Linked DNA regions of Homo sapiens: region 1 is linked to region 2. The links are contacts of gene promoters, found by promoter capture Hi-C in blood cells and fetal thymus (Javierre and others, 2016). All regions are on one chromosome and are shown on one strand. The core of a region is centred on a gene start or on the middle of the fragment in contact, and the rest is flanking DNA. Distances in the headings are between cores, read along the strand shown. Region 1 overlaps MYH14 (myosin heavy chain 14). Region 2 holds the start of KLK4 (kallikrein related peptidase 4).

What was found. Contacts are between HindIII fragments. The CHiCAGO score rates a contact against its expected background, and 5 or more counts as called.
Region 1: a contact is called between a fragment that was not itself captured here and the fragment with the promoter of KLK4 in region 2, in 1 of 17 cell types (total B cells). The highest score is 5.4, in total B cells.

The regions. Positions count from the first base shown.
Region 1 is chr19:50,245,557-50,248,571 of GRCh38, reverse strand. It overlaps MYH14 (myosin heavy chain 14), which reads right to left. Exons shown (of 43, transcript NM_001145809.2): 12 at 1,450-1,568. Among named protein-coding and RNA genes, the nearest start is that of MYH14, 43 kb to the right of the region's middle. The HindIII fragment of the contact is 6,027 bases long and covers 1-3,015 here.
Region 2 is chr19:50,909,239-50,912,678 of GRCh38, reverse strand. KLK4 (kallikrein related peptidase 4) reads left to right here and starts at 1,284. Exons shown (of 6, transcript NM_004917.5): 1 at 1,284-1,340; 2 at 1,930-2,001; 3 at 3,265-3,427. The coding sequence starts at 1,941. The HindIII fragment of the contact is 22,926 bases long and covers 1-3,440 here.

The sequences.
Region 1 (3,015 bases), core at 156-2,655, 660 kb after region 2:
GCTGAGATTGAACCCGGGTCAGTGTGGCTCCCAGACTCCTCATCTCCCCCACGGGGTCTTCATCCAGGTACCTCACTGCCCAGCCTGGGGCCAGCAGAGGCCTCTGCCCAAAAGCTGGATTCTGAAACCCTCCCTGGCCTGTGGTCGCTCCACTCCACCCTCCCTGCTCATGGTGTGAGCTCCCACGATTGCCAAGACTCTGGATGCAGCCTCCTTAGGTCTCCCCGCCTCTACCTGCATCCCTGAACCCAATTCTCCATGCAGCAGCCAAGGGGATCTTTCTATGAAAGACAAACTGAATCAAGTCACTCCCTGGCTTAAAACCTCAATGGCCTCCTATGTAGTTTGAATAAAACTCACCTCCTTACTGTGGCCCCTAAGACCCTGCATGATCTGCCCCTTGCTGACATTTCTGACTGTGGATTCACCCACCCTCTCTCCCTTGCTCTTCAGCCTCACTGACCTGACCTCCTTCAATTTTCTTTTTTTCTTTTCTTTTTTTTTTTTTTTTTGAGACAGAGTCTCGCTCTGTCACCCAGGCTGAAGTGCAGTGGCGTGCTCTCAGCTCACTGCAACCTCTGCCTCCTAGGTTCAAGTGATCCTCGTGTCTCAGCCTCCCAAGTAGCTGGGACTACAGGCGTGTGCCACATACCCAGCTAATTTTTGTATTTTAGTAGAGACGGAGATTCACCATGTTGCCCAGGCTGATCTTGAACTCCTGAGCTCAATCTGTCCGCCTCAGCCTCCCAAAGAGCTGGGATTACAGGCATGAGCCCCCACACCCGGCCTCACTGACCTGCTTAATGTTCCCAACTCCCCAAGCCTGCTCCACCCCCAGGGCCTTTACACTTGCGGTTCCGTCTGCCTCGAACCATCTAGGTCTCATCTCGAATGTTTCATCCTTAGAGCTTCCTTAGAGAGGACTTTCCTGACCAACAAAACCTCCCCTTCACAGGTGCTCTCACCATCTAAAAGCATCCTGGGTTTTTGTTTTTTGTTTTTCTAGGATACCATGTTGCATTTACATCCTGTTTTTTTAAATTATTATTAAATTTTTTAATTTTTTTAGAGACAGAGTCTCAGTCTGTCACCCAGGCTGGAGTGCAGTGGCGCAATTACAGCTCGCTGCAGCCTCAAACTCCCGGGCTCAAGCAATCCTCCCACCTTGGCCTCCCAAAGTGCTGGGATTACAGGTGTGAGCCACCACTCCCAGACACATCCTGTTGAACTTTTATTATCCATTTCCTTACTATAACTTGAGGTCCCTGAGGGCCTGGTTATTTGTTTCGATGACTGCTTTTACGCCTGGCACCTAGACCAGGATCGGTAACGGAGCGGGCACTCAGCAAAAGTCTGTTGAGTGGTGGGAAAAACAGCATACACTGTTTAAAGACCCAGGGCCGGGGTGCGCGGCTCTTTCTGTGCCTGCCCACCGCCAGCCCCGCCTACCTGTTCCTTAGTCTGGGCTTTCTGCACATAGTCTCGGCCAACTTTGATGCGAGGGGTGAGCAAGGCTCGGGAGAAATCCGTCACCCCCAGTCCCAAGAGGCGGCAGAGCTTCTGTGCAGCTGAGGGCGAGAGGCACCAAGATTCCATCAGCACTGGGAAGAGGTGCTTGCTGCCCAGCAAGGGAGAGGGTACCGTTTCCCACACTGTTGGGGGAGCAGAAGACGGGCCCCGCCTTTCCCAGGAGAGGCATTACGAGTCCCAAAAGTGTGTACATTCTCTGCCCAACTATTTTTTTTCCAGGAACCAGCACTGGCAAAATAACCCTGCATGTGAGCAAAGACCGTGCCACAAGGATGTTCAGCGCAGTGTTGTTTATAATCGGAGAAAGCTAGGAAACAACCTCAGTGCCCAAGAAGCGGGAATTGGTTAGATGGGTCGGGCTTCATTCATTTGAAAGAATGTTCTGATGGTTTTTTTGTTTGTTTTGTTTTGTTTTGTTTGAGACAGAGTTTGGCTCTTATCACCCAGACTGGAGTGCAGTGATGCAATCTCAGCTCACTACAACCTCCGCCTCCCTGGTTCAAGTGATTCTCCTGCCTCAGCTCCTGAGTAGCTGGGATTACAGGTGCCTGGCCCATTTGAAAGAATGTTCTGCAGTCACTAAAAGCTACACTGGAGGCGGGGCACGGTGGCTCACGCCCGTAATCCCAGGGAGGCCCTTCGGGAGGCCAAGGTGGGCGGATCACCTGAGGTCAGGAGTTTGAGACCAACCTGGCCAACATGGTGAAACCCCGTCTGTACTAAAAATACAAAAATTAGCCCGACATGGTGGTGCGTGCCTGTAATCCCAGATACTTGGGAGGCTGAGGCAGGGAGAATCGCTTGAACCCAGGAGGTAGAGGTTGCAGTGAGCTGAGATGGTGCCACTGCACTCCAGTCTGGGCGAGACTTCATTTAAAAGAGGAAAGATGGAAGGAAGGAAGGAAGGAGGGAAGGAAGGAAGGAAGGAAGAAAGGAAGGGAGGGAGGGAGGGAGGGGGGGAATCCCAGTAGAGTTCTATCTAAAAGAAGGAAGGAGGGAGGGCAGGAGGAAGGGAGGGAGGGAGCGAGGGAATCCCAGTACAGTTCTATCTAAAAGAAGGAAGGAAGGAGGGAGGGAAGGAGGGAGGGAGGGAGGGAGGGAGGGAGGGAAGGGATCCCAGTAGAGTTTCTTGTGAATAACCTGAAAAGTTATCCCGAAAGCATTCAGGGGAAAAAAAAGCAGGTTTCAAAACAGTTTGCAGGGTCTGACTCCAGTTTTGTAAAACAAATGAGTAAATGTGTGTGCACGGCACACCTGCTGGGTGCCTATGTACAGAGCCCCCAGGTGCCTCAGGTAATGCTGTTACCAGCAGCATAGTGGGGTAATACATCCTGTCCTCCTATTTTCTGTGCTGTGCAGCTTTCAGAAATGAGCCCATCGGATTTCATAATCAGGACAGAAAGCTCTTGCTGTCTCCAGGGGAAGAGGGGGTGAAGCACGATTCCATTTCTGTGACACTCTATATCCACAGTGATACAGACACAG
Region 2 (3,440 bases), core at 35-2,534:
TCGGGCAGTAACTTGGCTCCACATGCAGAGGGGACCCCGTGTCCATTCACCTCTCTTCTCCCTTGACCCCGTCACCTCCCACCTGGGCTGTTGCCACTGCCCCCCGCCCCGCCCCCACCATCACTCTCCAAGCTGGAAGTTTTTAAAAAGTAAATAAGATTATGTCACTCCATCCTCGTGCTTAAAATCCATTGCACTTAAGTAAAACCCAAGCTCCTTAATCCTGGTACGTAAACTCCTGCAGGCCCGCCCGGTTCCCGGTCTGCGCTCCTACCCGCCCTGCCCTCCTACCCGCCCTGCCCTCCTCTGGCTGGAGCCAAGTTCTCCCCTGCACCCCGCAACCGCCCCTGCTGCGGCGACCCTCCTCCTCCTCTTCCCTGGGATCTCAGCTTAAATGTTCCCCTTCTCTGAGTCTCCCCGACCACCACCTTATATGCTGGTCCCTGCAGTTTTCCTTTATGGTCTGTGCCCCCGGGTAGGACGCGATCCCCAGTGACGAGGACTTTGCTGGTTCCTCCTGTGGCCCCAGCACCTGCCGCAGAGCTCGGAGTGTGGTAGGCACTCAGCTGCTTTTCACTGAGCGAAGACTTTTTAGTTCTCCCGCTCACCGAGAGCCTACAATGTGCCTGGCACTGTGTGCCTTTCCCTGAATTACCTCTTTGAATCCACTTGGGAAATGGGGCATAATGGTCACTCCAGTTTTACAGTTGGAAAAACAGGCTCACAGGGGTGCAGTCACTTGCCCAAGGTTCCAAAAATAGTTCGTGATGTAGGCTGGATACGAACCTGGGGAAATTTGCTGGAGAAGCACAGAAAGAGAGGGATGAAGGAGGAGGGGAGAGAGAGAGAGAGATTTAATTTAAAAAGAGAAAGAACATGAGAGAGAACAGGAGAGAATGAGAGGAAATGAAAGAAAACACGAGAAAAATAATGAGAGAGAGAATGAGAGAAAGAAAGAAGAAGAGAAAGAGAAAATGAGAGATACAGGCAAGAGAGAGGTATCTCATGAGAGAGAATAAGAACATGAAAAGAGAAAGAATGAGAGAGAGAGAGAGAAAGAAAAAGGAGAGTGGAGTCTAGGATCTGGGCAGGGGTCTCCTCCCTGGGTCCCTAGACCCTGCTGCCAGCCCCTTCTGGGCCCCCAACCACTGCCTGGTCAGAGTTGAGGCAGCCTGAGAGAGTTGAGCTGGAAGTTTGCAGCACCTGACCCCTGGAACACATCCCCTGGGGGCAGGCCAGCCCAGGCTGAGGATGCTTATAAGCCCCAAGGAGGCCCCTGCGGGAGGCAGCAGGCTGGAGCTCAGCCCAGCAGTGGAATCCAGGAGCCCAGAGGTGGCCGGGTAAGAGGCCTGGTGGTCCCCCACTAAAAGCCTGCAGTGTTCATGATCCAACTCTCCCTACAGCTCCATGTCGCTGGATTCTCAGCCTCTGTGCCTTCTGTCTCCACATCTCTCTAGACAGATCTCTCACTGTCTCTAGTTAGGAGTCACTGTCTCTAGTTAGGGGTCTCTCTGTCTCTCTGAATCTATATCTCCATGTCTAACTCTCAGACTGTCTCTGAGGATATCTCTCAAGCACTCTGTCTCTCCGGCTCTGATTCTCTGTGTGTCTTCCCTCCATGCTTGTTTGTGGGTGGCTAGACACCATCTCTCCCCATTCACAGATGGCTAGATGCTTTCTCTAAACTTTCCTTTCTACCTAGTTCTCTCTCTCTCTCTCTTTTCCCATCTCTCTCTCTCTTTTTCTCTCTCAGTCTCTAAATCTGTCTCTCTAGGTTCTGGGTCCATGGATGGGAGAGGGGGTAGATGGTCTAGGCTCTTGCCTACCTAATAACGTCCCAGAGGGAAGAAAGGGAGGGACAAAGAGAGGGATGGAGAGACTTGGGCTGAAGATCCCCAGACACGGCTAAGTCTCAGTCCTCATCCCCAGGTGCTGACGTGATGGCCACAGCAGGAAATCCCTGGGGCTGGTTCCTGGGGTACCTCATCCTTGGTGTCGCAGGTATCTGAGTATGCGTGTGTGTGTCTGTCCGTGCTTGGGGGCACAGTGTTTGTTAATGTTCAGGTGTGACTCAGTGTCCTCTTGCTTGTGACTGCAAAGCTGCCTGTGAGACGGTACCGTGTTATCCGTCCCCCATGGCTGTGCCCCTGCAACTCCTTGTATCGTGGTAAATTTGTGTGTGGCAGTGTGCCTGGGTGTGTGGTTGTACCTGTGAGACTCTGACAGTTTGTGCCTCTGAATATCTGGTGGAGTGACAACAGTGTAATGATGATATGGGGACAGGGGAAGCCGAGGGTGCAGGAGATTGTGCTTCCTGGGGCGTGATCCATTGCTGGGAATCTGTGCCTGCTTCCTGGGTCTTCAGTCCTGAGATCCCCCTCTCCCATCCCCAAGGAACTCACCTCACAGGACTATAAAACGGTGTTTTGGTGTGCATGGGCTTGTGGCTTGGTGTGACTGTGGGCAAGGCTGGGAGAGGATAGGAGTGACTCGGCGCAGGACCGACTCTTTGAGCATCAGTCTGCGCAGACAAGTGACCCGATCCTTGCTCCCAGCAACAACTCCACCCCCTGAGCTTTAATTCACCCCGAAGGACCCGATCCTACTGCTATGAGCCTAGACTCCTCTGTTGAACCCCTCCTGACCGTGGCTTTGCACCGCGATGGCACCAGTCTCACCTCCAGAGCTCACCCCAGAGCCCTGACTCCGCCCCAGAAGCCCTGGTCCCACCTTCTGAGACTGCCTCTAGCCATAACCCAGCTCTTGAAGCCTTGATGGCGCCCCTGCGCTGTAACCCCAACCCTAGGAGCACTGATCCCGCCTTCTCAGCCCACCCCCATGCCCTGACTCTCCTCCCAGGAGCCCTGACTACCCTGAATCCCTGACCAGGCTCCTGCACCGTGATCACCGCCCCTGGGAGCCCTAGGCCTATATCCTGGACCAGCCCCTGAAGCTCCGATCATGACCCCTGCACCATAACCCCACCCCCAGGAGCCCTGGGTCCGCCCCCTGGGCCCGCCCCCAGCCCTGACTCGGCCCCCCAAGAGTCCTGACTGCTCCTGAAGCCCTGACCACGCCCCTGCTCGGTAACCCCTCCCCCAAGAGCCCTGGGCCCGCCTCCTGAGCCCGTTCCCAGCCCTGACTCCGCCCCGAGGAGCCCTGACTGCTCCTGAACCTCTGACCACGCCCCTGCTCGGTAAGCCCACCCCCAGGAACCCTGGGCCCGCCTCCTGGTCCCGATCCCATCCCTGACTCCGCCCTCAGGATCGCTCGTCTCTGGTAGCTGCAGCCAAATCATAAACGGCGAGGACTGCAGCCCGCACTCGCAGCCCTGGCAGGCGGCACTGGTCATGGAAAACGAATTGTTCTGCTCGGGCGTCCTGGTGCATCCGCAGTGGGTGCTGTCAGCCGCACACTGTTTCCAGAAGTGAGTGCAGAGG